4 separate regions of the Homo sapiens genome follow, and all the other regions are linked to region 1. Evidence: promoter capture Hi-C in 16 types of primary human blood cells and fetal thymus (Javierre and others, 2016). All regions are on one chromosome and are shown on one strand. Each heading gives the region's core, a stretch centred on a gene start or on the middle of the fragment in contact. The rest is flanking DNA. Distances are from core to core; before and after follow the strand shown. Region 1 holds the start of LINC00955 (long intergenic non-protein coding RNA 955). Region 2 has its middle 39 kb from the start of ADRA2C. Region 3 holds the start of LOC124900651 (a long non-coding RNA gene). Region 4 has its middle 13 kb from the start of ADRA2C.

Evidence for each region. The method cuts DNA at HindIII sites, captures the fragments that hold promoters and counts their contacts. A CHiCAGO score of 5 or more calls a contact.
Region 2: a fragment that was not itself captured here is called in contact with the fragment with the promoter of LINC00955 in region 1 in 2 of 17 cell types (M0 macrophages and endothelial precursors); the score reaches 5.8 in M0 macrophages.
Region 3: a fragment that was not itself captured here is called in contact with the fragment with the promoter of LINC00955 in region 1 in 1 of 17 cell types (endothelial precursors); the score reaches 5.2 in endothelial precursors.
Region 4: a fragment that was not itself captured here is called in contact with the fragment with the promoter of LINC00955 in region 1 in 1 of 17 cell types (endothelial precursors); the score reaches 5.5 in endothelial precursors.

Annotation. Positions count from the first base shown.
Region 1 is chr4:3,574,021-3,581,746 of GRCh38, forward strand. It overlaps LINC00955 (long intergenic non-protein coding RNA 955), which reads left to right and starts at 2,849. Exons shown (of 3, transcript NR_040045.1): 1 at 2,849-3,103. The HindIII fragment of the contact is 6,504 bases long and covers 1-5,007 here.
Region 2 is chr4:3,801,295-3,809,020 of GRCh38, forward strand. No RefSeq gene overlaps it. Among named protein-coding and RNA genes, the nearest start is that of ADRA2C, 39 kb to the left of the region's middle. The HindIII fragment of the contact is 2,479 bases long and covers 1,614-4,092 here.
Region 3 is chr4:3,779,957-3,787,682 of GRCh38, forward strand. It overlaps LOC124900651 (a long non-coding RNA gene), which reads left to right and starts at 861. Exons shown (of 2, transcript XR_007057997.1): 1 at 861-1,035; 2 at 2,664-3,207. RefSeq lists an enhancer at 906-1,538. The HindIII fragment of the contact is 5,786 bases long and covers 1,837-7,622 here.
Region 4 is chr4:3,749,600-3,757,325 of GRCh38, forward strand. No RefSeq gene overlaps it. Among named protein-coding and RNA genes, the nearest start is that of ADRA2C, 13 kb to the right of the region's middle. RefSeq lists enhancers at 1-107, 4,523-5,228, 4,737-5,936. The HindIII fragment of the contact is 3,798 bases long and covers 734-4,531 here.

The sequences.
Region 1 (7,726 bases), core at 1,599-4,098:
TCTGTCATCTCAGCACTTTGGGAGGCCAAGGCAGGTGGAACACGAGGTCAGGAGTTCAAGACCAGCCTGGCCAAGATAGTGAAACCCCGTCTCTACTAAAAATACACAAAAAAATTTAGCCAGGTTTGGCGGAGGGTGCCTGTAATCCCAGCTACTCGGGAGGCTGAGGCAGAGAATTGCTTGAACCAAGGAGGCAGAGGTTGCAGTGAGCCGAGATCGTGCCACTGCACTCCAGCCTTGGTGACAGAGCAAGACTCCATCTCAGAAAAAAAAACAAAACAAAAAACAAAAAACAAAAAAAAAAAACAAAAAAAAACCACCTGTCGGTACAATGCACAGTGCCTGGGTGATGAAATAATCTGTACACCAAGACCCCGTGACACGCGGTTTACCCGTGTAACAGACCTGCACGTGTATACCTAGAACCTCAAATAGAAGTTGGAAGGAAAAAAAAAGAAACAACAAACAAAAATAATCTGAGACTCCCTGAAGGATGAGAACGGGCTGAGCGGGGCCACAGGAGCCCGCACCGGGTCCGCGGAAGGAACTCACACTCCTGCTTCAAGGTGTGGAAGGCGACCCAAGAGGCGGTACACAGACCGCGAGGGAGCGTGCTGTGAGAAGCTCAGGGAGACAGGGCCTGGGAGGCCAGGTGAGGTGTGGGCACAGCCAGGGAGAAACACTGGTGACCCGAGACGCACGGGAACTCGCAGTCACTTGACCAAGTAGCGGCCACGTTTGCGCCACACTTCCATAAACGTGACCAGTAAGGAAGCGACAAGCCTGAAGGGTCCTGACCATTTATTACTCAGGGTACAGCATGTCCTTATCCCTCTGCCTTGTCCCCCACATCTCAGGGGGCAAACAGAGCAGGTTTGTGTCAGCCGAGGAAACCCTTGATCTTCTAAGGGGACTGCTAGCCATCTCGCCCCCATCTTTGCCACAGAAAAGACGGTATCCTTTTGCCCTGGAAGATAAACCAACGTCTCGGGGAGAGGAGGGGCCGCAGGTTTATTTCCCAGAAATGTGTGCAAATCTGCAGACACAGCAGGGAGGTTTTGCTCTCCTGCATGCCTCCAGCGGGCTCTGGCTTGCAAGAATGTCTCATGCAGGCATTCTTCCAGTGCCCTGTGCTTTGAAAAATACGCAGAAAAGCCAGAATTATGGAGGGCAGCCTCCTGGGCTTGTGGGTGTTGGGCAGGTGGAGGGAGACGTATGGAATCTTCTGGTCTCCAGGCAGCTGTGCAGTGCACCGGTCGGTGGGATCAGTCAAGGAGGTTCAGAGCAGGATGGAGGAACCGCTCCAGGGATTTCCAGCAGAGAGGGGTTTGTTGCAGGGAAGGAGATGGATCCTGGGACCCTGGAGTTCGCACCCCTGCTCTGTCTGCTGCAGTGCTCCGGGGGTACACAGCCCAGCCCAGGGTCGCCCCGGTCATGTGCCCCCAGCACCAGCCCCTGGGCCTTTTATATGTTTCTGGGATGCTGCCTGTCTTCCAGTGCCATCAGGAAAGGCTCGGGGAGCTGGGCCTCACTGGACGCCATACCCCTCCCGCTGGAACAGTGCGTAGGTGTTCCGCCCTCCAGGGCAGACTGACCGCAGGATGAACGCCCCCGCCCCACAGGTGCCCAGCGCTTCACAGCTCACAGAGCCCTTCGACCTCCCTGGCCTGGGATGACCCTCTCAACACCCCCAGGAGGAGACACCGGTGCTGCCTTCAGCAGGGAAACCTGGGCTTGGATAGGTGCAGCGGCTCCTCCAAGGTGGCCAAGCTGCCTGGCCCTCGCTCATGAATTCTGAGTAGCCCCTCCTGTCACTGCCACCCACTGCTCTCCCCGGAGGCCTGTGTGTCCTTTGTTCTCTCCTGAGGATGGCTGTGGCCTCCTCCTGTTCCTGACAGGGCCCGGTGCCCACTGGCTCATGTCAGAGTTCAGGCCTGAGGGGAGGGGTGTTTGTGCTAACAGGAGGCAGAGGGCAGCCTGCCAGTCTGGCCCTGTGGCCACCTGAGCTGTCCCCTGGGACCCGTGGCTTCATGACTCTGACCCAGTGGATGCTGTCTTCATAGTCTGAGTGGGAGCCAGGTTTGACCTTGGAGTGCCTGGGGCATAGAGTCCCTGTCCTCTGGAGGAAGAGATGGTCATCCCTTTTCATGCTGACTGGCCCCAGGGCAGGACCTGCTCTTTTGGACCCTAAAAGGGACAAGGCCTGGTGGCAGAGCAGAGCTGGGGCTCAGGAGAGGGAGACGGGTGGGAGGAAGGGAGGAAGAGGAAGAGAAGGAGGAAAGGGGGAGATGAGGAAGGGGGAGGAAGAGGAGGAGGAGGAGAAGGAAGAGGAGGAGGAGGAGATGACTCAGGCACCCACGGCATTACTGTGGCAGGCTGGCCCTCGGTTTCCCCAGCAGTAAATGAAGAGATGGGGTCAAGGGGCCCAGGCCCCCTTCCAGATCTGAGACCTGCGCATCAGGCTGTCTGTATTCAGAGGAAGCCGGGGATGGCAGCTCCCAGCCGTGGGCTCGGCCTTCATTCACTGTACAGGCTCATCCATTCACCCAGTGAACCCTCCCGAGTCCCTTCATGAGGGCGGCCTCGCAGGGACTTTGGTCTCGGCTCTGCCCTGTCCTGGCCTTGGGACCCTGGGTGAGCTGAGGCAACCCAGTTTCCTGGTCTGTGACTCCAGGCTCTGTCCTCGCCCCATCGCCCCCCATCGTGGCACAGGTTCGAGGGTGTTGGCTTGCCTGGCCTCCTGAGGGCCTTCTGGGGTTAAAGTCTTCTATCCTGAGGCTGAGACCAGGGCTGGGGAGGAGGTTCAGCCCCTGTGGACTTTATCCTCCCTCTCCACGGCTGAGTCTTGATTTACAGCTGGAAGGGCAGACGGAGGCATCTTGGTGTATACACAGCCCTGCTGGGCCACATCCCGGGTCTCCTCCCTCTGCGATGCCATAGCAGGGGCGCCTTCCGAAAGCCCTCTGGATTGAGGCAGCAGGATCTATGGTGGAACCTGCCCCGGCGTCGCCAACGCCCCTAGGACCCCAGCACACTGACTGGGGAGCATCCCTGTGTCGTTTCTGCCCGGAGAGGAGCAGAGGCCAGGCTGCTGCTCTGGGAGGTGAGTGTCATGCCTGGGAACACAGCGGGGACCCCAGGGAGGGAGAGCAGGTGTTTGCTCCCTGGGCTCTGCCTGGTGGTCCTGACAGCAGTCCTGACTGTTGCGAAGGCTGTTTTTTGGTGGCTTCCTTAGGGTCCTCGCTGTGCTCTCGGTCCCAGCACTGTCTGCTCTCCTTCCTGGTTATTTGAATGACCCGGCTCCTGTTGCTGTATCCCGGGTCCTGACCTCCCCTGAGATGGACTCTGTTCAGGCTAGACTGCCTCAAGGGACCCGCTTCAGTCTATTTGTGGCAGAAAAGGTTAGCTGGCTCCTGGGAAATGTCAGGGGATAAGTCAAAGCTGGCCAGCGGCAAGGCCCAGTGACGCCCTGTCATTTTATGACTCCCTTTTCTTAATCAGTCGAGGAGAAAAACAAGCAATGAAGGATTTTCCATGGCAACCACCAGCAGGGCAGTGTTCTCTCCCTACCTGAGCTTGTTTTAAGAAGAGGGGTCTGGCCAGAGGCTGCTGACCCTGGCCCCAGAGGGCAGGGGTCGAGTGTCCTGGAGTGTGACTCCCAGGCACCTGGGCTTGGGCTGGGCCCCTGGAGCAGGCGCAGCTAATCTGGCCAATCTACTCCTTCACACTCATGGAGCAAATGGGGAAACAACCCAGAGAGGGGCAGCCCAAGGAAGCAAATTTGTAGAGCCTGACACTCTGAGAGAGCTCTCAGAAGGATACTAGTCTTCTAAACCAGAAACTTATTCATATAATAATAATAATGTTTATAATAATAACATTATTAATTCCTTCACCATCCACCCACTTACTCACCCTCTTACCCATCTGTCCATTCAACTCATCCACCCCCACATCCAGCCAGCTTCCATCCTATCATACATTCATCCACCTACCCGTCCACCCTTTCATCCTTCCTTTCTTTCATCACCCACCCATCCTCTCACTCATTCATTCATCCATCCACCCATCCATCCATCTACCCATTCATCCACCCATTCATTTATTCACTCTCCCATCCACCCATCCATTCACCCTTTCTTTCTTTCATCATCCATCTATCCACCCATCCATCCATTCATCCACATATTCGTCCACCCATTCATTATTCACTTATCTATCCATCCTTCCAACCATCCATCCATTCATCCACCTATTCTATTCACCCACCCATCCTTTCATGCTTTCTTTCTTTCATCATCCATCCATCCATCCATCCATCCATCCATCCATCCATCCGTCCATCCATCCATCCACCTATTCCATTCACCCACCTATCCATTCATTCACTCACTCATCCATCCATCCACCCATCCGTCCTCCCTTTCTTTCATCACCCACCCATCCATTCACTCACCCATCATCCATCCACCCAGCTAGCCAGCTTCCATGTCTATATCCAACTACTCACTCATCCATTCACCCATCAACCTAACTAAACTTGTTTTCTCCCATGTAACACAATACTTATCCACCCATCCATCCGTCAACCTACCCAACCACCCCATAACACGCCCACATCCTTCCCTTTGCCCATCTGTACACATACTTATCTACCTCTCCTATACCCATATACCCATGACATCCACTCACCCATTCATGCATGATCCTCCTACACATTCACTCACTTACCCATTGACTGCTTCACCTACTTATCCACTACTCCCCATTCACCCATACCCTCATAAAACTTCTATCCATCCATTCTATCCACCTACTCAAACAACCACCTATCAACCCATCTACCCATCAGACTGTGGTCCACCCACCTATCCATCCACCCATCTACCCATCTACCCAAAGACCCATCATCCATCCTCTATCCACCCATCTATCCATCCATCCATCCATCCATCCATCCATCCATCCATCCATCCAAACACCACACATCACTCGTATGACTTTAGAAGCTTTGTCCACAGATTCCAACTCAGCTTTGAGATTTGGATCATCCAAATTTGCTTCCTGGGCTGCCCCTCTGGTCTGTTTCCCCATCTGCTCCACGAGTGTGAAGGAGTAGATCAGCCAGATTAGCTGCGCCTGCTTCAGGACTCCAGCCAAGTTTGGGTGTCTGGGAGCCACACTCCAGGTCTCACCAGGAAGACTATGCCAATCATGGAGAAGTCTGATAAATGCAAAACCCATTTGAACCCCCTGGGTGGGGTTTATAGATGTGCATGAAAGGAACAGGATCAAGTTCTATATGGGGTCGAGGGCTCAAAACCAAACTCTAAGATCTGGAGTCCCTGTAACAATACATAAATAGGTTTCTGCAACTCCCGTCTGTGTGGTAGATGAAAATACCATCAGTACACTGACTGATAATGCTAGTATTTTCTAACCTCCAATTACCTAGATAATGCTGCTCAAATCTCTTAGTTGTTTCCTCAGTGAAAAAAAAAAATGTTTAAACCCAAGGGAATATTTAGAATTAGGTACAGAAATGTTTTATGGTATCAACTTCCAGTATTCATAGTTTTGAGTGAAGGAATCTGGGCGTGTTTGGTATTATAAGCATTTGTGATGTTTAAGAGATTTGGGGTTATTAGAAGGGACAGTTTGGCCTTTTAATTAACATTTGAAATATACACTGAATTACTTGATTTAGACTTATGACTATCAGTTGAAATCATAAAGTTTATATAAAATGTTGGAACATTTAAGAGAATCTAAGTTTCATCATATTAGGAAGTTATGTTTTTAAATTTAAAAGAACTAGTTAATTTGGGAATATTTGTCAGGCAAGATCTAATATATTAAGTTTGTTGATGTAATTAAGTTTTTGAAGGTGTTTTATTAAGTAGTAGGAACTACTGCTAATGAAATAACTTTTAGAAAGAGTTTTGAGATTTCTTAAACTTATAATGATAAGATTTGTAGATTCGGCTCAATAGTTTAAGGGAGAAAAACATACGTTTCTGATTTTGTATCATCAGTACATACAAATTTTAATTTTTTAAAACCCAAAGTAATTTCTGAATAATCTATCATATGTGCAAAAAAAGCCTTTGAGGACATAAAATAAATATCACATTAGCACCATGCCGACTTATTCTCCCATCCATCCATCCAACCACTCACTTATTTACCCTTTACTCTCCCTTCTCTCTATCCTCCTATCCACCTGTCCTTTAACACTCCCACCTACCCACCCATTTATTCATCCATCCATCCATCCATCCATCCATCCATCCATCCATTTCCATCCTCCATCCATCCAACCATCCGTCCGTCCGTTCATCCATCCGTCCATCCATCCATCCATCCATCCATCACCCACCCACCTTTCCATTCATCATTCATCCACCCATTTCCATCCTCCAATCATCCATCCATCCATCCATCCATCCATCCATCCATTTCCATCCTCCATCCATCCATCCATCTGTCCGTCCATCCATCCATCCATCCATCCATCACCCCCCCACCCACCTATCCATTCATCATTCATCCACCCATTTCCATCCTCCAATCATCTATCCATCCATCCATTTATCTACTTGTCCATTCACCCATTCACCTATCTACCTAGGAAATATTTATTAAAGGACCTAGTAGGCAGCAGACACTAGAAAAAAAGTACCTACACCTAAAGGGGAGCTGCTTCTGGACCCACAGACTTTTCTGACTTCTCAGTGTTGGGAGAGACTAGCTCTGTCCCTCTGCTCTGTCATTTTTCCTTGACTTTGCCATCTCGCCCCCTACAGTGATCTGGTGATCATGAGCACAGTGGTTAGCATGTGGGCTATGGTACCAATGGCCTGGGTTGAAATCCCACCTCTACTATTTGCTCGCTGGATGACATTGGTCCACGGAGACAAAGGAGCACCGACCTCATAGGCTCCTGGTGAGGGCCACGGGTCAGTGCGTGTGGGCGTGTGTGGGAGCAGAGCCTGGACTGTGGCCTGCCCCTGCCAACACTGCCCATGCTGAGCTACAGCCAGGCATCCTGCTAGATGCTGGCTCATCCCGACATGTGTGTGCATTGAGGCGGGGTAGCCTCTGGGGGTTCTGGACACAGACCAAAGTCCTACTGCGGCTGTGAAGAGAGCTAAGTGGGGCTGAATGTGTTGCTCTGAGAAATGAAGAGAAGGGGGTGGCTTTCCATTTTGAACAGCCTCTGCCCCACCAAAGGGAATCCAGTCTCTCTGGGGGCTTTCCTCTAAGCTCTCCCTGCACTGCCCTTAGGGCCTGACAGAGCCAGGTCTGGGCTGCAGGGACTGACCAGGAATAATGAGCTGGCCTTGGAAGGCACAGTAGACAGCCCATTCCCATAGCTCCTCCCAGGGAGCACAGGGTGCAGAGAGGCCTGGGGAGAGGCTGTTTGTGCCCCCAGCGTGGGTCCCTCAGGTGCGGCCCCAGCCCTGGCTCCAGATGGGGCTCGAGAATCAGCCATCTTCCCTGCGTTCTGCGGGGCTGCCCTGGTCCTGCGGCCCCATGGCCCCTGTGGTCATGTTGAATGCTCTCAGCTCCAGGTTCACCTGAGACCCTCTGCCTGCCTGTCCCGAAGGCTGCTACCCTGTGGCGTGGGGAGCTCCTACTGTCCCCATCCACCGCCATCTGCCAGGCCCATGGTCCCTCTGGTGCCAGGAGCCTGCTGGTCACTCTGCCTGTCCTCTGGGCAGCC
Region 2 (7,726 bases), core at 1,603-4,102, 230 kb after region 1:
CTCAAAACTGTGATCCAGGAATTACGCACAGGTGACTTTGCTCATCCTCACAAGGATCCTACAAGGAGCTGATGTCATCGTGTCTGGTTTCCATTGGGTCCTCCCATTGGGTCCCTGGATGGGCCCCGTGTGCCGAGTTCCAGGTCCTGAGGACAGCCCTGTGCTGCTGCTTATCCCAACAGCACCGTAGTGAGGTCGGCACCTCCTCCTTTAAGCAGATGAGGAAACCAAGGCCCAGAGAGGTTGAGCCACTTGCCAGAGGACCCATAGCTAAAGTGGCCAACCCAGCCCTAAGACAGTCTCACCCCAAACTCTGTTCTCGATCTTTGAATTCTGATGTAGCCAGACATGGGGCAGGGTGGAGGTCTGGGACAACGTTGCCTGCCAACTCCTCCCAGGATCGAGACCCTGCTCAGCACAGGTACTGTGGTAGCTGGAAGCTGGGCCCTGCCGGCCCCTGAGTTCCCGACTGGACAATGGGCGGGCCAGAGTTAGCAGATAAAAATCCGGGGTACCCAGCTATACGTCAATTTCAAATAAACAATGTCTACATTTCTGGTATAAATACATCCCATGCAATATTAAGAAATACTTATTCTAAAGATTACTCATTGCCCATCTCATACTAAAGTTTAACTGGGCATCCCTTATTTTCTCTGGCAACCGTAGCAAGGGCAGCGGAGAAGGCTTTCTGTGAAGCCCCCCCACTTTGGAGAGCTGCTTAACATTCCCCAGCAGAGCGGAAGTGCCCCACATCCCCATGCTCCTCCCAGGCCCCAAGCTGACTGGCCTGTCAATGGAGCAGATGGTGGTGAAGAGCCCTCTCTCCCAGAGCCCTGGAGTCTGAGTCTGCCGCATGGTTCTTCCCATTTCTGTGTCATCTCTTAACCCTGGGGCACCCCAAGGAGGATGGGATGTGTTGTTCCTCTTATTCTTACTCTCCTTTTTTTGTAGATAAGGACACCAAAGCTCAGAGCAGGGGGGCGCCTCACCCAGCATCACCCTGCAGGGGCGGGCCGCGGGCACGCCCCAATGCTGAGGCCTCTGTGACGTGCTCCCTGGCCCCCCGAGCCTGGAGAAGCGTGAGTCTGCTGCATACTCCCTGACCCCTGGCTTTCTGGGGTCCCAGGAGCCCCAGGTGAAGGCCCCTCCCTGCCTGCTGTGAGGCTGGGCCTCTCTCCGAGTCACACCTGCCACTCCTTTGTGCTTCAACAATAAACAAGCCTCTGACGGGGGTGGTAGAACTCCACGGGAGAAGAACATATGAAAACAGCGGTAAAGGTGGCAAAGGACCCATGGCAGGCACTTAGTCTTACCAAATAGACGCCCACAGGCAGTAATAGAATAAGGGCCCCCTCTGCATTCCTCCCAGGCCTTTTCAAAGCAGCACCTTTGTCCTGGACTCTGGGGCAGGGGAGGCATGGACCACTGATGCCTTCTCTCCTAGACAGCTGTAGCCTGAAGCCATTTGCAAGCCACATTCTGTCTCACCCCTGACTTGTGAGCACCAACTGCATGCTCAGAACTTGGCCCACCCAGGATCTTTTAATCCAAGGCTGACCCCTGGGGGAGGGGCTGGAGAGGGCGTCACAGGTCCCAGTCCTTATCCTCAAAGCTTTGACCACTTCAAGTATGTCTTCTTGGTGTTTTTCTTTAATAACTCATTTGGTGACAAAACCTGGCCTGATGATTGATCTCTATTTCTTGGATGTTGTTTGGCTGCAGAGCAGTGGATTCATTTGAATGGGACGGTCTGGCCCAGCCCCCTATGGGTGTGGTGAAATACACAGAACAGGCACCACGTGGCTTTGTCAAGGCTGAATTCTGAAGCCCACTGGCTTCCGGGGCCTCTCGTAAGGGTCCTGGACTTGTGGCTGTCCCCACCCCCGCGTTGAGGAAGCTGAGCTGAACAGCAGCCACAGAGAGTCCTGTTAGCTTGGGAGGCTGGGGACACCGGGGACTGGACATGCCTGGTCTGGCGGGACAGTGGCAGCACTGGGTGGCAAGGGCTGATTCAGGGTGGGGGGCTCGGGGGTCTCCTCTGAGGGTCGGCCAAGGCTGGGAGGTGGAGCAGGACCAAGGGCTCAAGTCTGGGCTGGTCAGGATTCCTTTGATGAAGGGGTTGACCATGATTAGGATGAAAACAGGAGGAGGGCAGTGGCCCCCGGACTGAGGGTCCCCCCATGTTGGGGCTTCCTGTGGCCACACGGCAGATGCTCTAGAGACTCTGAACTGTTTCACGCACGCCCCGTCCCAGAGTGCAGCCTCCAGACAGCCAGCCCCGCCTCCCCTGCTCGAGGGCGGCCTTGTGCCGGAAAGCCCACAGCCCTGTGCGCACCGAGCAGGGTGTGCCCAGGACGTGGCCCTCCTCCCCCAGCCCCCCACCCGGCAGCCCGGACGATAGGAGCCCTGCAAATGCCCCAGCTCCCTCCCTGACCCCGTCAGGGCACTTGGGGATGGGCACTGCAGTCTCTCCAAAGTTGCTCTCTGTGAGACCAGTGCGTTCACCCAGGACCCCTCCCTTCGCTCAGAGGGGCCCCGTTCTGGGGGTTTATGCTTTTAGGTCTCCGCCTTGAAATTCCTAACGATTTTATCTTTGACTTTGTGTTTGTGAGTGACGTCCCATAGAGAGTTTGGAGCTTTGGTTCATGGGCGATCCCGCCTCCCACCCCTCCCGCACTCTCAGGTGGGCTCTCAGCTGCCCACTCTCCTGCCCCACCAGTGATTGCTGTCACCCTCCACCCCTGAGAGGGGCTGTGCAGGTGTGGGGAGGGTCTCGGGCTTGGTTGTTCACACCCTTTCGGGGGCTCCTGCCCGCCATGCCCTCCTGGGTTTCCTGGGAGCTCTCCCTGAAGTCACCCTTGTCTCAGGTCCGCTTCTGTGACTCCTGGCCTGAGACAGCCCCCACCTTGTACATCCCACTGCCAGGTGTGTGTCCCTGCAGACCCCTCACCAGAGATGCCTCCTCCTCTTCCTGTTTATCCAAATGCTCCTGACCCCCCTCCATCTCCCCTCATCCCCCGCCCCTCCACCAGCTGACTCCTGCTCACTCTTCCAGTCTCCACTGCAAACATCTCCTCCTGGAACCCTCTGAAACCTCTTCTGGTCTAATGTCCACCTCACACTTTTCCTGGCTGACAGTTCTCCTGGCCTCTGTGACGTGGGCCCTTCTCCTTGTTCGTGAGGAAACGCACTCCCTTGGTGCTGTGGAATGACTTGTGTCCCCACAAAAGCCTCATGTGGAAGTCCTGGCCCTCTGGACCTCAGAATAGGACTGTAGGCAGATATGGGGCCTTTAGAGAAGTAACTAAAGTGACTGGGCATGGTGGCTCACACCTGGAGTCCCAGCACTTTTGGAGGCCAAGGGTGGGGGCCACCCGAGGCCAGGAGTTAGAGATCAGCCTGGCCAACATGGTGAAACCCTATCTCTACTAAAAATACAAAAACTAGCTGGGTGTGGTGGTGGGTGCCTGTAATCCCAGCTACTGAGGAGGCTGAGGCAGGAGAATCTCTTGAACCTGGGAGGCGGAGGTTGCAGTGAGCTGAGATGGCACCATTGCTCTCCAGTCTGAGCAACAAGAGTGAAACTCTGTCTCAAAAAAAAAAAAAAAAAAAAGAAATTAAGGTAAAGTAAGGTCATGAGGGTGGCCCTAACCCCGTGTGACTGCAGACCTCATGAGAAGAGGTGATGGAGACACAGACAGGAACACCCCATGAGGTTGCAAGGAGAGAGTGGCCATCTCCAAGCCAAGGAGAGGCCTCGGGAGACACCAAGCCTTGACTCTTGAGCCTGGAGCCTTGGTGACATCCTGCAGTGGTTTAGATAGGGTTGGCTTGACCCTGCCAAGTCTCCTGTTGAAATGTGATCCCGATGTTGGAGGTGGGGCCTGGTGGGAGGTGTTTGGGTCACGGAGGCGGATCCCTCATGAATATCTTGGTGTCTTCCTCGCAGTCAGGAGTGAGTTCTCACTGTGTTAGCTCCTGTGAGAGCTGGCTGTTGGAAAGAGCCTGGCACCTCCCCACTCGCTGGCTTCTGTTTCACCATGTGAGGTCTGCACAGGTAGCTCCTCTCCCACTGCCGCCATTGGGGGAAGCTTCCTGAGGCCTCCCAGAAGCCGAGCAGATACTGGCTCCATGCTTCTTGTACAGTCTACAGAACTGGGAGCCAAATGAACCTGTTTTTTTTATCAATTACCCAATCTCAGGAGTCCTTTACAGCAACACAGGTGAACTATGACACACCTTGACCTTGGACTCCCAGCCTTCAAGACTGTGAGGTCATCAGTTTCTGTTGTTTAAGCCCCTGGTCTTCGCTAGTTTGTTATGGTGGCCCCAGGCAGATGGATCCGGTTGGCAACTGGGCCTGTCTGCCTGAGGCCTGTTGACAGCTCCTTCCCTGCGATGCCCCAGGACTGGTCATTGATAGCCTTTGCCAATGGCAGGAAATAAACAAGGAGAAGGATGCCCCTCCTGCAGGTTTCCCTGCGGCCCTCATCTCCTTGTCTGGTGGTTGGCCTTGACGAAGGCTGGCATTGGCAGTGCGTGCCCCTCTCCCTTCAAAACTTTCTCCTGCGTGGATCCAGGCTGGCTTCAGGGCCTTGCTTGGCCAGTGGAAAATGGCAGCAGTGACTTTCTGGGGCTCCGAGCTGGGTCAGAAGACGCTGAGCAGCCTCTGCCTGGGCATCTCGGAGTACTCACTCCCTCTTGGAGCCCTGCCGCCATCCCGGAGAACCCCAAGCCACATGGAGAGACCACGTGTGGGCCTGTCCTCAACAGCCCCAGTGCGGCCCTCAGCTGACTGCCAGCCTCAGCTACAGCATTGAGTGATGAGCCTGGAGGGCATCCCAGGGGAGCACCCATGTGAGAGCAGCCCTGGCAGACACCCCACTGCAGCCAGTGGTGAGACCCAAGTTACAGCCTCCCAGCAGAGCCTGGTCAACCCACAGAACTGGAAGACATAATGATACATTGTGGTTTTACACTAGTAAGCTTTTTTTTTTTTTGAGACAGAGTCTCACTCTTGTCGCCCAGGCTGGAGTACAGTGGTGTGATCTCGGCTCACTGCAAACTCTGCCACCCGGGTTCTAGCGATTCTCCTGCCTCAGCCTCCCAAGTAGCTGGGATTATAGGCACCTGCCACCATGCCTGGCTAATTTTTGTATTTCTAGTAGAGACGGGGTTTCACTATCTTGGCCATGCTGGTCTTGAACTCCTGACCTCATGATCCACCCAACTCGTCCTCCCAAAGTGCTGGCATTACAGGCGTGAGCCAGCACACACAGCCACATTTTTTTAATGCAAGAATAGATGCACAGAATACCGCGTGGTCCTGACTCTGGCCTCAGGGCCAATGAAACCCATTCCGCATGCCCCATGATAGTCCTCCAGAAATCTGCAGACAGTTCCTAGGTCCCCAGAGTCTGTTCTCTCAGTGAAACAGCTCTGATTCCTTCAGACATTTCTCTAAGGACCCAGTTTCAGACTGGCTTTCCAACCCCATCATTGCTAATAAGCCCACTCTAATCGGCCGAGGCACAGATTACCTAAAGGGACCCAGAACCAACCACAACGCTGCAAAGAATGGTATGATCAACCCCTAGTGCAGCTGAATGATCGCCTCCATTATTCTGGACACTTTGCTCCTATTAATGTAACTGAAGATTAAGTTTTCTTTCTAACCAACCTGACCCTGTCATCTGCTCAAATGAAGCTCGTATCAATTATGGTGTCTCCTTCCTTCCTTCTTTCCTTCTTTCCTTCCTTCCTTCCTTCCTTCCTCCCTCCCTTCCTTCCTCCTCCCTCCCTCCCTCCTCCCTCTCTCTCTCTCTCCCTCTCTCTCTCTTTCCCTCTTTCTTTCTTTTTGACAGAGTTTCGCTCTTGTTGCCCAGGCTGGTGTGTAGTGGCACGATCTCAGCTCGCTGCAACCTCTACCTCTTGAGTTCAAGCAATTCTCCTGCCTCAGCCTCCCGAGTAGCTGGGAATACAGGCGCCCCCACCACGCCCGGGTAAATTTTTTTTTATTTTTTTAGTAGAGACGGGGTTTAATCATTTTGGCCAGGCTGGTCTTGAACTCCTAACCTCAGGTGATCTGCCTGCTTTGGCCTTCCAAAGTGCTGGGATTACAGGCGTGAGCCACTGCGCCCCACTGGTTTCTTTTTAAACAAGCACTTTCCACGTTTTCCTTGGGAACACATATACAGGTTGCCAACAGAGAATTCCAGGATCCAATGCAAGGGGGTCACTGGGTGGCCCAGGGCAAAACATTTCCCTCTGGCAGCAGGGAGGTGCTAATGAGCGAGTGGGAAGATAACAGATTTATGCTTTCGAAAAATTTCCTCCAAATAAAACCTGCTGCAACCAGGGACCATGAAATTTGTCACACATAACATGATATATTTTTTAAACAATTCCAGGTTTTAAAAAATTCACTGATTTTCTGTCACCCACCTCAAAAATACAAAAGAAAAAAATACATATTTCATCATTTCTTAAAAATTCAAAATGATTTCTCTTCCAGTATTTGAATCAACACCCCCCAATTCAAATGTGGCGTTTCTGAGAACGTCTAATTCATTTAACTATTTTTCAACTCGGAGGAATGAATTGTCAGTCACACGCTATTTCGAGAACAAAAGGTTCTGTGGAAGACCCGTTCTGAGGAAGCTCTGAGCCCTGCAGGCAGGGACAAAACCCCTGGAAGCTGAGCTCAGGCACGAGGAGGGTCCTCTGCACTGGGCAACTAGCGCCGAGAGATTAGCCACTAATCAGATTGACCCCTCCAGGACCCGACATCTCCCCCACAGAGACCAACAAGTCTTCACAAATTTGAGAAAAACAAAAGAAGAATGTTTATCATAAAGATCTGGGCTCACCACCCCCTGGGATGGCTTCATTTCATTTTGAAATCACAAAACCTGCAGCTACTTAGGAGTAAAACAAAGAAAGGACATATTTCTTAAGGGGAAAAGCATGTAGGATTAATCTCAGAGCTTTAAGAGCCGAAGGTTCAGAGTGGATTTGAGTGGTTGCAGCATATGCCGTGTTCCGCGTGAGAAATACTGATGTGACTGCACAAGTAGCTTTCCTTGGCATTTTAATGTATTATATAAGCACATTTATATAAATGTTTTCCTGGGTTGGATAAATAGTGCTTTTCTATTTAAATTTAATCTGGGTCCTTGAGAATGAATTTCACTGATCTTTTTGTAACCCTGGAGATTTACCCTTGATGCAGATTTCAAACGTGAAATGGAATGTTGCTGAGTTCATTGGTTCTGGCACTCGCGGTGGTGTCTGGTATGGAGGAGACCCCCAGGAAGAAGAATGAGTGGGCAGGTGAATGTTGGAGGTGACAGATAGCCTAATTACCCTGATTTGATCATTACACTGTATACATGTATCAAAATATCACATGCACTCCCAAAATATGTACAACTCTTGTATTATATAGCAATAAAAAAATATCCCCCCAAATGATGGCAGGTTCATTCCACAGATGCTTACTCAGCGTATCTACGTGCCTATCTGTTCTAGGCATGAGGAATACAGCAGACAACCAAGGTGCCAAGACCCACACCCAGGAGCTTCCATTCCACTGGGAGAGAGTGACGATAAACCGGAAGCACTTGTGCCAGGTGGTGCTAAGAGTTAAGGAGGAAATGAATGTAGAGCTAGTGTGGTAGAGAGACCGTGGGGGTTTTTCGTTCTACATGTGGGGTCAGGGAAG
Region 3 (7,726 bases), core at 3,480-5,979, 210 kb after region 1:
GCAAGCTGCAACTTCTTGCAAAGGCCTGGGTGAGCCGCAAAGCCAGAGAAGCCCGCCTCAAAGTCAACGTGCTCCCTGGCTCCATTTACGTGACATTTTGTTGAATAGACTATTTTTTAAGCAGTTTTAGATCCATAGAAAAATTGAGCAGCAAGCACAGAGTCCCCTCTGTCCTCTTGGCATTATTTAACTTCTCCATCTGTAGATGTGGATATTGATGTGGACTTCACAGGGGCAGTGGGTGGCAGGAGATTCCTGGAGGTGGGTGTGGGCGTGCTTTGTAAACTGTAAAGTGCAGCACCCCAGTTAAAATTTATTCTCAGGCTCAGTAAGCCATGGGGTGGCTGCATAGCCACCGGGGCCTGCAGAGGGTGGGAGAGACTGGCTCCCAAGCCCAGCCCAGAGGTTCTGGAAAGGTAAGCCTGGTCACATTGCTCAGAGGTGAGGAGGAGGGACCCTCCAGCCCAACCTGGCCTCCTGCAAGGTTTGTCATTTGCGGGGATGACGGAAAACTACCAGCCTGTCTGCACAGCTCCAGCCAGAGCTCTTATCTCCCATCGGCTCGCCAGAGGCCTCGGCCCAGCCCCCAGCCGGCAGGAGGATGGGGCACCTCTGCTCCTGGAGAAGGAGAGGCCCTGTGGCTCCACCTGCCCTAAGGGCTGGCCCTGGACTCCTGCCAGGTCCCCACCCAGCCTGTGACATGCAATGCCAGGAGTCTAGAATGGCCTATCCCTGAGGGGGGTTCAGATCCTGGCTCTGTCCTGTCCCCCCTGTGTGACCTCAGCACATTCCTGCACCTCTCTTAACAAACCCTGCCAACAGCTGAGTTGCTTAGCACCTGCTATGTCGTGCAGCTTGGAGACCCTGCGCACCCTTTACCAGGACCCTGTCTCCCAAAGCTCGGTGAGGCGCCTGGTCATCCCCCAGGATGTGGGAGGCCGAGGCTGGGAGCAGAGGGCGGCCCGCACCTGCCACAGGGCTGATCTAGGCTGGGGCTGGGATTGGAATTCCATCCCCAGGTGCCCCCGACATGAGGTGAGCCGGGGACCAGCGTTCATGACGCAGTGGGAGCCCCTCCCAACAGGGCTGTGACTTCGCCGGGGATGGACCTTGCAGGGAGGCAGGCAGCTGCCCCACAAATCTGCCTCCCAGAGCCCTGAGCCGCCCACGGCTCTGGGTTGGGGTCTCAGCTGACATACAGTTACTGGAGTTTCTGTGGCTTCTCTGGACGTGGCCTGAGCCGGGCCAAGGGAGAGAACAGAAATGGAGGGACACATGTCTATGCCCTCAGCAGGCAGCACCACAGGACCCACACGAAACTCCTCCCCCTCATGAAACTCCTCCCCCATATGAAACTCCTCCCCCCACGAAACACCTCCGCCCGCAAGAAACTCCTCCCCTCACATGAAACTCCTCCCCTCACACGAAACTCCCTCCTCACATGAAACTCCTCCCCACACACGAAACTCCTCCTCCCACATGAAACTCTTCCGCCACATGAAACTCCTCCCCTCACATGAAACTCCTCCCCACCACACGAAACTCCTCCTCCCACACAAAACTCCTCCCCACGTCTTCCTCCCACACGAAACTCCTCCCCACACCAAACTCCTCCTCCCGCACGAAACTCCTCCCCTCACACCAAACTCCTCCCCTCACACGAAACTCCTCCCCTCATATGAAACTCCTCCCCCCACATGAAACCCCTCCCCTCACATGACACTCCTCCGCCCACCAAACTCCTCCCCCCCATGAAACTCCTCCCCTCGGGCCCCACGTGAGCCTGTAGCCAGCCCTCTGGGGGAACTGAGGCTTCAGTGGAAGGAAGGCCCTGAAAGCTTCTTCCAGGCTGGGGAAGGAGCACTAAGGGGAGGAAGATCACACTCCTCCAGCCACCGTGTTGAGACGCTGGGGCTGGGAGTCCCCTCTGCGTCCAGGTGTGTGGATGTCAGTGGTCAGTCTCCTTTCATTGGTGCCCACCTGCTTTCCTGCTTCTCATGAATGCCCACAAAGTGTTGGGATGACCACCAGCGGCTGCAGTATGATACCCCAGCTTGGCAGCCCCACGAAGAGGGGGTCCCAGGGCAGGTCCCACACGCTCCCAAAATTGCAGTGAAGCCACTCGGCCCCAGGGGCCTCCGGTGGGGACAGAGATGATTCTGCACAGGGACGTCAGACACTGCCGCCAGGCGGTCGTTCAGGTGGGAGGCGGCCCTGCAGGGGAGGTAAGACTGCTTTGCCCACCTCCTCCCTGAAGCCCCACTGGCCCCTGAGCAGCTGCAGGCTGGTGTCTCTTGGGCCTGCACTGATAGTTGCCTCCAGGTGTCCTGCCCTGCACGGCACTCCCTTGCCACACCCTGGGCTTCACAGCCTCGAGGGCAGGGGTCTGTGCCCCTGGAGCATGGAGCTCTCGGCTGCTGAGCCCCAGCCTGCCTCTGCGCCACCTTCAAACCTGGCTTGTATGGAGAAAGTTCTCCCTCTGGCCTCTGGCCTGGCTCCCTGGTGGCAGTGGTGTCCTCGGCTCAGGACTGCCCTGAGGGCCCTCTTCCAGCCCCGCCCCTGCTTGAGCGAGTGAGTGAGCAAGCCTTCCCCAGGTGGGCCCCTCCCTAGCTCCCAACCCTGACTTTTCCCCTGAGCCCAGGCTCTGCTGTGCTCTGTGCTAGGGCTGGATCTGCTGAAGCCGGGGCCAGAGGCCTGTGCTGCCCCCAACCTGGGAACCTCCAGACCACACTGATGCGACCGCTGCCTCCCAGTTCCCAGGAACAGATACTGAGCTCTGAGCAATGGGCACAATTTCAGACCCAGCGTCCTGGCGGTGCCATAAAACTGCAGCAGCGAAGCTCACTGGAGTCATTTTCTCCTGTGCTGCTGACACGGAGAGGAAAAATCCCCAAATAAAGCTCTTCCCACAGCCACAGCCACGAAAACATTGTCCCCTGCAACTGTGCTCGCTACTCAAACATGATTTCTCCTCCTCAGGGGGAAAAACCTCCCAGCAATTCTCATTGCAAGATGGTAAACCTGTCGCCCTAATGAACAGCTTTCATTTAGAACCCAGCGAGAAGGGGCGCACCGGGAGACGGCAGCTTTGTTGACTGCGATGTTTCCAAATCACTTGCTCAACCTGCAGCGTTCCCATGGAGCTTGGAGCGCCCAGCATAGGGCTTTATTGTTGTTTTGAGGCAAGAAAGAAGTTTTCAGAAGCCATACTTTGTGCTGATTCATGTTTCACCCTTGTGCCTACAAAGTCTCCCTCAAATGGGTATCCTGGTCCTCTTGCATGCCTCTGATGATGGGATGCTCACTACTTCCCAGTGCAGCCCCCCTTCATTGCAGGGGCTCATCACCAAGACTGCAGGGGAGGAGACTCAGAGCTCCCGTCTGTCCTGCTGTCTCCACCTATGAGTGTTTACTGAGCACCTGCTACATGCCAGGCCCTGTGCCAGGGCTGGGAGGGAGGAAGGGGCTTGCGGAGGGGCTGCCCTTTCAGGGGATGGAGCTCAGGGCTGGCTTGGCTGTGACAAGACCATGATGCAGGTTTGACACTCCTAAAGGAGAAAGGAATTGGGTGGGAGGAGCCTCAGTCACAGGTGGCAGCTGAGACAAAGGCCACCCATGCAGGGAGCTGGGACCAAGCTGGGACCCCCTGGGAAAAGCAGCCCTGGGGTGAGCCCCTCAGCCTCCAGCTTCCTCCGCACAGGTCCCCACGGCAGCCACAGTGAGGGTCCTCTGTCCTCCGTGGGGAGGGCCACGTACCCGGCATGATGGCAGCAGCTGGTGGTGCATGTCTAATATATGGCAGCTCAAGGGGATCAGCCTCTCAGCGGCCCCAGAGCAGCGCTCGGCGAGGGTGGGGACTGAAGCACCCCCATTTTATAGGAGAGGAGCAAGGCTTGGGGGTCGAGGGGACCTGTCCAGGTAGGATGTGAACACTGCTGCTTCACTAGCCTGTAAGACGCCCACGCACAGTCTGCAGCGCCTCCCAGCCCTGGGCGGTGAGAATCGGAACAACCCGAGCAAGCACAGCCCCGGGGCGGGGGTGAAGAGGGACCCCACCCAGCTGGCCCAAGGCAATGCCTCCTTACACCCGCCTAGAATAGGATCCTAAGCCTAGAATACACTGCGGGTGCAGCCTGCCCGCTGCATGAAGGATGGGCCCTGGCTTCCTAAGGCACGGACCTGGAGCACTTGATCCCGTGATGGATCAGGGGCTCCCGGACAGCTGCCCTGGGCTGACGGTTCCCGGGGTGGACAGCATCAGCCGGGGCTGGGCACACAAGGGGGAATTCAGTCCAGGAGGTTGGAGCGATGCGTGAGTGAAGAATGAATGAGTGAGGGAATGAATGATAGTTCAGGCGGTGGCCAGCAGTGCACCAGCTTCCCTCAGAGCTCCCTGCGCCCGGCCTGCCCATGCCCTCGCCTTCCTTTTCTCGTCTCTGCCTCTCCCACCCTTGTCACAGGCTGTCCCCTTCTCAGAGGCACTCGGAGTGCCCCTGAGTCTCCTCTCATTCCAGGAGGCTGAGCTGGACTCCCCGGAGCCTTGGGGTGGGGAGGGGCTTGGTGGGGGAGCTGGGGGCGGGGCCAGCCTTCCTTCTGGCTTGGATGCGCCCTTCCCAGTGACTCCATCACCTCATCAGCAAAGCCAGGGAGGCAGTGACACAGGTGCTGCTCCATGCGTGTGGGGGCTTGTCTCATCAGCTGGCACAGGCATGTGAGGACACGCAATAGGACAGGCCGGTCGGGTGAGGTGGGGTGAGTCTGGGACAGGCGATGGGGGCCCCTCGGGGCCTGAATGTTGGCCGACGGGCCCCTGGGACAGGTGCAGGGGGCAGTGCATCCTCTCCCCGCTCCCCAGTGCAGCCACAGAAACAGCAATAAAAGCCTTTTTGTTGCCTTTCCAGCCCAGACAAAATCAATAAATTCTGGAAACATGAGAACAGCTGACCTTTGAGATTTCTAGCAAACCTTCAAAGAGGAAATGTGGTTCGGGCTCCGGCTCAGAGCTCAGCACCAAGTCCAAGGCGCTGGGAACCTCCGCATAGGCCCAACTTGGGTCCTGCACTGTCACAGGGGTGAGACCCCAATCCTGCACGTGCTTCTCAGGCAGGCCTCACTCATGTGGATTCCAGAAAGTTCCGTGGATGGAACCTGCTCTTTCTGTGGTGAACGCCAGTATTGCTTTAGCTGTGTCTCAGCTGTTCCTTCTCCTCTAGAGAGTTCTCCAGCAGCTGCGAATTTGGAGCATGATCGGCTGGGGCGAGGACAGCACCACTTTGCAGATGGGGAAACTGAGGCCCTGAGTAGGCGGGATTTGGGGTTGATGCCAAGCTGCTTGGGCCTGATTCTCGGTTCACTGGGATTCACCCACCTGGGCCTTGGTGCAATTTCCAGAGGTTTGGTGGGGGAGCCGGGGGCGGGGCCAGCCCTGCTTCTGTCTTGGATATGAGCACCCCGGCAACTCTGTGGTCTCATCAGCAAAGCCAGGGAGGCAGCGACACTTGCGGGTCCCACTCGATGAGTGTGGGGTCCTGTCTCATCAGCCTGAGCAGGCATGTGAGGACCACTCCCCCAGCAGTAACCCAGGTCGCTGCAAGTGGCTATGGCATTCACTTTTGCCCAGGTGCCCAATTCAGTTATTTATTTATTTAGAGACAGGGTCTGTTTTTTTTGCCCAGGCTGGGGTGCAGTGGTACTATCAGGATTCACTGCAGCCTCAACCTTCCAGGCTCAAGCGACCCTCCTCCTACCTCAGCCTCCTGAGTAGCTGGGACCGTAGGCATGTGCAACCATGCGGGCTAATTTTTATATTTTTTTGGTAGAGATAGGGTTGCACCATGTTGCCCAGGCTGGTCTCCAGCCTCTGGGCTCCTGGAATCCTCCTGCTTCGGCCTCCCAAAGTACTGGGATGACAGTGCTGGGATTACAGGCATGAGCCATGCACCTGGCCATAATGTGGTTATGGATTGAGCTCCCACAAAGCGATGGTCATGCTCAGGGCTGAGGAGGGGCAGCCAGGGCCAGCCATGATCCCTGTGCTCTATGAATAGGACTCTATGGAGGGTGGGATGGAAGGGAAAGGGAAAAGACAGAGATGGAGACTGCCCCCCAACCCCAGGCTAATGACCGGACTCCTGCAGGAGGGGGTGGACTTGGGAGAAAGGCGAGGAGGCTTCTTGAGCTTTGAGTGTGAAGCTCGGAGAGAAGTCCAGCCCAGAGAGAATTTTGGGAGCCCTGAGCACAGATGGGGCCTCCTGCAGGTTGGTGTCATCTGCAGTGCCGAGAAATGCAATGCTGCTGTTCAGGCAGCCGCTCCCTTCCCCGGGAGAAGCAGAGGCCACGCAGACCCAGGCTGGCAGCCCAGGGCCACAAAGAGGGCTGGCGACGTGCTGGGCACAGAGCTGAGTGGCCACCTGCTGGTGCTGCCTGGACAGCCTTCTGCATTTTCACTGTGCCAGGCCTGGCTGCAGCCAAGGCTGCCAGCCAATCAGTGCTGGGGGCAAAGGTTCAGCTCTTCCATCTCACAACCACTCCCTGGCCTGTTTCCATCGCTGCAGTGCTGTGTGCCAGGTCCCTCCTGGAAAGTGGGTTTCTGAACATCCAAGCAGAGAGAGAAAGAGGAGGGTAGGCGGGGCTCCACAAGTAGGGCCCAAGCCTTTTTTGCACCATCCCTGCAGAGTGGGAGAGAGCTGCCTGCCCTCAGGAGAGAGCCCCAGGGAGGGAAGGAGCCTCCTGCAGCCTTGACCAAGCAAGCTGAGATGCCTGGAGGCCCAGCTGGCCTCCTCCCACCTGGAGCACATACGCACTGGAAGCAGCCTCCCCACAAACTCGCGGGAAATTGGGGGCTGGACCCAGAGGCAGGGGACCAGGCCAGCTTCACCCCAGGCCACTTTCTGCCTGGCTACACGCAAACCGATTGATGCTCAAGAGCAGCAAAAACCTCGTGTCTTTACCAACCAGCTTTTGCATGTTTTAATTAATGATGAACTTTATGTCTTAAGAAGGTTTAGGTTTACAGAAAAAGGAAAAAAAATGAGAAAATCATAGAGAGGGTTCCTATGTGCCCCCGTTTCCCTCATGTCGAGCATCTGGTACTGAGGAGGTACCAGCTGATGAGCCGATACTGATGTGGCGTCATTAACCGAAGCCCACAGTTCACATTAGGGTTGATTTTGGTGTTGGATATTCTCTGGGTCTGGACACATATATAGTAGCATGCATCCACTATTATAATACCGTGCAGAGCAGTGACACTGCCCTAAACATCACTGTCCCCCGTGGGGCTCTGCTGACTCACCCCTCCCTCCCCCTCCCCTCTGGCAACCGCTGATCTTTTTACCATAGTGCTACCGAAGTCTCCACAGTGCTGCCTTTTCCAGAATGTCCCCTAGTTGGAATCCTGCAGTGTGGCCTCTTCAGACTTGCTCTTTTCACTTAGCAACATACGTTTAGGGCTCCTCGTGTGTCTTCATGGCTTGAAAGCGCATGAATAATGTTCGATTATCGGGATGTAGCACAGTTTGTTTATCCACTCACATGCTGAAGGACATCGTGGTTGCTTCCAAGTTTTGACAATCACTAATAAAGCTGCTATAAAGCTGAGTGCAGCTTTCTGTGCAGACACAAGCTTTTAACTCTTCTTCAGTTTTGCCTCATCAAGACTTCCCTTGTGGTCCTGGAGACTTGAAGATGAAAGAGGCCTCGGGGGCAGTCCCTGAAGGCCGCGCCC
Region 4 (7,726 bases), core at 1,383-3,882, 180 kb after region 1:
CAGCCACCACCACCAAACCTCTCCAGGATGTTTTCAGTAAACCAGAAGATGTCCCCATTAAACAACTCCCGGGCCTCCCTGGCACCCACCCTTCTATTCTCTGTCTCTATGAATTTGACTGCTCTAGGAATCCCATGTAAGTGGAATTGGATAATGTTTGTCCTTCTGTGACTGGCTGATTTCGCTGAGCATGGTGTCCTCAAGGGTCATCCATGTTGTAGCCTGTGTCAGAATGTCCTTCCTCTTCAAGGCTGAATAATATTCTGTGGTATGGATGGACCACACTGTGTTTATCCATCACCTGATGACGGACATCTGGGTGGCTTCTGCCTTTCAGCTATTGCGTTGCAGTGGGAAAGCAGCCAGGGACAGCATTGTTCCTGAACAAACGTGTGCAGCTGCTTTACCAAACCAAGTGGCGGGCCCAGCAGTACCAGCGGCTTGGGGGTGGGAGATGCACCAGGACCAGGCAGAGGACCCAGAGGGTCTGATCCCCAAAGGCTGTGGCCCTGCATGTGTGCAGGAGGCAGGGAGATGCAAACAACAGACACAGGCTGTGCACTGCTGCCAGCTGCAGCAGCAGGGACAGAAGGGAAAAACCAAGATCTGCAAAGCCATCCGTGTCTCATGAAAAAGGGTGGCCCCTGGCCTTGCCTTTCTGGAGCAACATATGTAGACGTGGGTGCACACCCACACACGCCCCCACATGCAGGGCACGTGAATGAGTCCCCAAAGCTTCCAGAAGCACCAGCCGGGCAGTGCAGAATCAGACCAGGAGAATGAGAGGCTGCCCCCACTCCCCCAGCACCGTGTGCCACTGGGAAGAGCCTCCAGGGACGTTTCCGTGCTCCTGGGTAGCCCCGGGCTCTCCTTGTTCTTTCCAGCTGGAGCTGGCACTGGCTGAGCTCCTACTGTGTGCCAGGCCCTGGGCCAGGCACAGGACACACAGGCCCCTCCAGTTCCACCAGCAACCTGAGGAGGCGTTAGGTTGGGCCCAACCCAGACGGCCCACGAGGGCACAGGGAATTCAAGTGAGCTGCTGGAGGACCCACGGCCATCGAGCGGGGGAACCAAGACACAGAGCTGTCAGCTGCCAGCCCAGGGACCCCAGAGGTGGAAGGGCCATTTGCTGTGTCTCCTGGGCAGACCCTCTGGGCCTCATGTCCTGCTTGGCTCTCCTGAGCCTTCTCTTCCACACCACGGGACAGCAGTGACTGTCTCAAGGGGTCACAGCAAAGATTAATCAGATCATGTAGGTGAAGTTCCTGGGCGTGGTTTGCCCTCTAAAAGGTGGCTCTTGCTCCTGGGAGCCCCCACCATCCAGTCACAGCTGGAGCCAGGTCCGCCTAGCACCCCGGCCCTGCTAATTGAATAAATATTCATTCGTGTTGAGTACCCAAGTACCATGGTTTCCATGGCTACCCACTCCTAATGGCTTAATGAGACAAGGGCCCAGATTTTCCAAAACCCACATGAATGCCGGTCCCGATGGGAAGCGTGCCCATCCCATGGGGCGGGCCTTGCTCAGCTCCCTTTGGAAACATCAGAGACAGAGTGGCCTGTGGTCCAGGAGTGGGGATTCAACAAACAGCCGTCAGCCGTCAGCGTGTGTGGATGGGCAAGGTCTGTGAAACCCCAGCCCGAGGCCGGTGGAGTCGGAGAGCCTGGGCCCTGCATCACCCCGCACGCCACGCTGCCTCCCTTCCACCTGTTGGTTGGTTTCACTACATGCCAAGCGTGTCTCCCGTAGCAAACATGAGCCCAGAGCCCCGGCCCCTGCTGCCACGGCCCTGAGCCCTGCAGAGCCATGTCATGTGCGTGTGTGTGTGTGTGTGTGTGTGTGTGTGTGTGTCACCTGCCCCGCCCTGCCCACTAGGCACTGTTGAAAGGGGTCAGGGCCATGCACCATCTAGCCCTGTCCTGCCTTTCTATTTTACCCATCCTCGCTCCTCTTCCTCACTAGTCTCTGACTTTCTGTCCCCCTCCCAGCTGACACCAGAACGTGCCCCATGGACCTGATGCTCAGGGACTGTCTGGGGGGCCAGCAATGATGATCAGGGTCAGGGGCTGTAGGAAAGGTGGGTCCTGGCCGCCACCTTCGTCACCAGCAAGAGTAGATCTCAGGCAGTCACAGCCGGTGGGACATGCCCACGTGTCTGCCCCCCTCTGGTGAAGAAGCAGTCACAGGACCATGCCCTCAGCTTCCAAACCTCCCGAGTCCCACTTGAGTGCTCCTGGTTGGCAGAACCCAGCAAGAGGCGATGGCGCCCGGGCAGTGCAGGGGAGAGCAGAGGAGAAGCTGCACTGAGTGGCCCGTGGTCCATCTGGCCATGGCCCAGGGCGGCCCTGCACCTGCAGACATAAGGCCTCGGGCAGCCACTCTGGACACAGAGGTGGGAGCAGGAGGGTCGTGCCACACACATTTGTTCATGAATGATCCTGTCCCTTTGCAGCTTTCTCAGGAACCCCAAGAGCAGGTGAGATGCCTGGCCAGGGAGCTTAGCACAGCCGTGGGCTGGCCTGCAGGCAGCCAGCTGCCGTGCCAGTCACCAAGGCGGGGCGGTCAATGGAAATGCTCCACTAAGTCAGGCACAGATGTGGGGAGATAGCACCTGCGACCTTGGACTCCCCATAGGTGGCCCGGAGTGCTGGCCTTCCTCATGCACACTCCACTGTTTATATTTAAACAGCATGAGGTTCCCACCCAGGGAAGCAGCCTGGTCACTTGGGAAGAGTCCTCCACCAGAGAATGCTCCCTGGCAGGACTGATAATGAAATTGAAGCAACGACTGAATGCCGCCACAGCAGCCTCGGGATGTGAGCTGGGGTTGGGCAGCTGGGGCTTCCCTCCTTTCTGGGAGCTGGCCCCGCTTGAGCCTGCAGAGCAGGTCTGCTGGGGACCGGAGGTGGATGGCAGGCCGGCTCAGTTCCCACAGTAAGGGTGTGCGGCAGGAACACAGCCGGGCGCCTGGTGTCTCCAAGAACCCTGCGAGGGGCCTGCACCACTCTCCACTCGGGGTGGGTTCTGCAGGGTCCTGGAAGACGGTGGTAGGTTGTGTAGAGCAAGGGAGAAGGGACCCCATAGGGAAGTCGGCAATGGTGAGGGCCGGCACCACGCCAGGGCCTAGGGGAACCCAGCAGTGCTGGAGGCCTCCCAAGAGGGTGGCAGCCCTGCCTGAGCCTGGCCTGGCAGGGAGGGCTCTGGGGAGACCGTACCCCACCTCTGTCCCACACCTCGAATCTCAGCCAGGGGAACAGTTGGGAAAAAGAGGCCCAGGTAGAGAGATCAGGAGCAAGGTAAGCCAGGCTACCCTGTCCCTGTCCCCTCCCACCAGGCCGGTCACCTCATGCCCCAGCCCAGGGCCCCTCCACCTCTGTCCCCTGGAACCCTGAGGCTCGGCACACCCTGCAGTTTGACCTGGGGGACTCCTGCAGGTTTTACACCCCCTCCCTTGGCACCTTTGGCTGCATCTGCCGGCTGAGGAGAGAGGAGGTTGACCTGGCCACTCTCAGCCCAGAACCTGCCTGAGAGCAAGCAGGACTGAGGATGCCCACTCTCCCCACCTCCGCACCCACCTGCCAGCCATTCCTGAGGATCCCACCCCGGGCTGGTCCCAGGTCCCTCCCCTGAGTAGCCCCGGAGGGCACAAGAGGCAGCCAAAGAATGAGTCCACGTCCCCTCATCCCCATGCTGGGGCCTTGGCAGCCCTCAGGCGTCCTGAGGAGCCCAGGGGGGATCTAACCCTTCCAGGGGTGCAGGAGGGCTTCCTGGAGGAGATGGCTGGGCTGTTCTTGGCGGCTAAAGAAGAGCAGGCCAAGACGGTCAGGGTGGGACAGGCATTCTGTGCTGAGGCACCCTTGTGGGAGGGCACTGGGGGGGCACGGGGACAGAGCAGAGCCTGGTCTCCTGGAGTGGCACCTGTGGGGCAGGAGGCATGAGGAGGGGCACAGGCTCCCAGCCACCCCTGGGGGCTCCTGGCTGGGCTGCACTCCTGCCCAAACAGCGAGGGAGATCCCTGGAAGGTCCCTCCTGGCGAGGCCCAACTGGCCTGGGCTCAGGCAGCTCCCCTGAGGCCGAATGCCCCATGGCCAGCCCCCCCGACACACTGGGGGAGTGCATGGGGCAGGGGCAGAATGGCACCTGAGGCATGCAGTTGTGGTCCCTCTGCCCCCCGAGGCCTGGCGCTTAGGGCTGGCTGGTGGGGGGCAGGGGACGTGGGGGCGGTGGAATTCCCCTCCTGGGCACTGGCGGGCCTTGCCGCCGGTGCTGTAAGTTTCCCAAAGACACCTGCACTTCACCTTCTCCCTTCCCTCCCAGCTACGAAGGCAGGGGCGGACCTCCAAGACCGCGGCAGGCGGGGGTCCTGTGACCTGGAACCAGGAAGGGTGCCTCCTCGGTCATGAAAAGGAGGAATGTGCCTCCTCGCAGGATTTGTATTTTATTTCCTGCAATTGAAACAATATCTGGTGTGAGGCATCTAATTACCGCTCTTTCCTAGAAATTGAGCGATAACACATCCTGTCGATACAAAGCTTTTGTTAGAGTCAAACACAGTTTCCCAGGGCAATTCCAATGAACACTGCACTCAAAAGTACTTTGGTTTTTAAATAGTTTCTCTAAGTATAATACCGAGCCTGATGCAATCTACTTCATCTTTTGTTCTGGCTCTATTTCGAAAGTACCTTTGTACTCCTGTGTTCCTGCATAACAATAGCTGATAGTTCCTGCTCACTTGAAGAAGATCCCACCCAATTAGAATTTTTAGAAGTGGGAGAGCCTTTAGAGAAATCAGAGCCAACCCACTCATTTGTCAGCAAGATAAACTGAGTCCTGGGGTGAGTCCCTCAGCGCGTCAGAAGGTTATAGAGCACCAGACTAAGGTAAGAGCCAGGAGGTCAGGGGCTGGGCAGAGGGAAGTAAGGAAAGGGATGCGGGAGGCTGGTAGCTGGCAGAGGAACAGGTGATGGTCGGCGTTCCAATTCCACTGTGCCTTGATGCCATCAGCACCCCAACCCTGACCCTAATCCTCACCCTACCTAACCCCATCAGCACCCAACCCTACTCCAACCCTAACCCAACCCCATCAACATCCCAACCCTAGCCCTGACCCCAACTCCAACCACCTTCCAACCAGAGAAAAGGCAAATACATCCCTGAAGGACGTCACACTTTGCAGAGAGCGCTCTCACGTCCTTTGTCGTGAGAAATAAAAATGAAATCCTAAGACCCCCAACAGACTGAGCAGAACACCCCTTGGCCAAAGGGACCCCAGAGAAACCTTGGAAGCTGAGTTCCCACCGTGATGTGAGGGAGGTGGGACCCACCTCGTTGTACCCCCTCCCTCCCTTGCTAACCATCACTGGGCTTCCCCTCTAAGGGCTGCAGAGAAACCGGATCTTCCGAAAGATTCCGCCCTGGTTTCAACCAACACCTGACCTGCCCCTCCCTGGTGCGAGTTTGACACAGCAACCAGCCAGCGTTCCTTCCTGATAGGAGACCACGGGCCACAGAGAGCTTCTGGCCAGTCGGCGGGGGATGTACAGCAAGGGTTTCCGTGTCCTCCGCTTCACCTTTCCACATCAGAGGGTGGAAAACTCCACCCTTAGGTCATGCTGCCATTGTCGTGTCTTGAACGTGGGTCCTATGGAGAGGCAGGAAGCTCAAGTGCACGCACGTGTTTCTCCTTTCATGTATATTCATGACTCCTTCCATAGCTTGTTGAATATGTACATTAGGCACCCCCTGCTCAGCAAAGGGAACCTTCCTGTTCCCTTTGCCCCTCCCTCAAAATGTCTGTTTGCAGCTTCTGGCCTGAGGCTACGCTTCTCAGCCATCAGAATGGCTGCTCTGCAGGCTGCAACCCTTTATGAGAAATAAGGCTCTCCTTTCCAAACTTACGAACCTTGTCATTCTTCAGTTGACAACCTTTTAGGCTCTAGGAGTCCATTTTGTTCACTGATGTATCCCTAGGTTTCAGACAGTGCCCAACACAGAGTGAGCACTTCATAAACATTTGTTGGATGAATGGAGAGTGAGCATGTCCATCAGTGGCGGCTGGGCCTGCATACTCGCCTATCAGCACGTGTCTGCGGAGCCTCCTTCTGTCTCCAGCAAATTCAATTAGTGGCTTAAAGCAATAGAAATTTATTCTCACAGCAATGGAAGCCGGAATTCTGAGGTCAAGGTGTTGGCAGCACTGTGCTCCCCATGAGGGCTCCAGGAGTTCTTTGGCTGTGACCCCATCTCTCCAGTCTCCCCCTCCATCTGCACATGGCCTCCCTCCCTGGGTGTCTCCTCTTCTAATAAGGACACCAGTCATAGTGGATTAGGATGGGCTCCAATCCAATAAGATCACATTCACATGTGCTAGGGGTTAGGACGTGGATATATCTTTTTGGGGGGACACAATTCATTCCATAACCATGGCTTTCTTTCTTTTTTTTAATTGTGTGCTATCAGAAAACCATTAGTATATTTCCCATGAAAATCCAGATCTCTGTCCCTCTTCCTGCATGAGAACTTGCAGGGTGGACTTGAGAGGTAGCTGTCTCCTTCTGATAGGGTATGTGCCACGGACCACCCTCCCAGCCCTCCTGTGACCTGGGTGCTGCAGCCCTGAAGTTGCAGGCCCTTGATCTGCCCAGTGGTTTGCAACTGGGGGTGATTTTGCCCCCCAGGGGATATCTGGCAATATCTGAAGACATATTTGGTTGTTGCAACTGAGAAGTGCTCCTGGTGTCTAGTGGATGGAGGCCCGGGATGCTGCCAAACTTCCTACAACACACAGGGCAGCCCCCACGACAAAGACGAGTGCAGCCCAAAATGTCACAAGACACAGGTGGAGAAACTCTGTTCTACGGTGATAGGATATTGATCTGGGAATATGGCTGCCATGTAAAGACTACATTTCCCAGCTTCCCCGACATTAGGGGTGGGCATGTGACCAAGTTCTGGCCAATGGGGCATCAGCGTAAGGGAGGAACACAACTTCCAGGTGAAGTCGCCCTGTGATGGAAGGGCCATGGGCCCCCATCCCACTGTTGTGATGCCATGGATGTGGTGCCGGGGCCCAAGCTGCCCACTAGGGATGGCAGGGAAAAGGCAAAAGGGGCCTGAAACTGGGGCTGCCCACTGGGGATGGCAGGGAAAAGGCAGAAGGGGCCAGGAAGTCCTGCCCAGGCTTCCATGTGGGACAGAAAGGATCTTTTATCTTGCTCAAGCTGCTGTGCTTTGGGGTTTTCTTGTTACAGCAACATCACCTGTACCTTGACTTACTCACAGTTATCTCAGTCCAGTCCCGTTGCCTCCTATGACAAATTTCTGGTTTAAATCAGAGCCTTTCTGGGATGGGAAAACTCGAGAAGAAAACATAGCAGATCTTGCTGAGTGTGGGCCCAAGGTGTCCAGGTTCCAACACAAACATTCCAGGGCTGTGGGCAGTGGCGAGGACGGCTCAGCCCGCATCCCTGCCTTCCACAAATACTTGGGAATCAGGATCGATGCAGGAAGCTGGAGGAAGCTCCCAGGGTCATGGCAAATGTGAGCATTCTTAGTTTATTTTCCCAAACATGTTAAGGACTCTTCTTCATTTTCCTATTAAAGAAAACCTCAAAGCAAACAAAACAAAACAAATCTCTGAACTCCCTCCAGCTCTGAAGCACTTGTCTGCTCTGGTCAGATTCACAAATCGTGGGCATAAATTACTTTTGTTGAATTAACCATTCC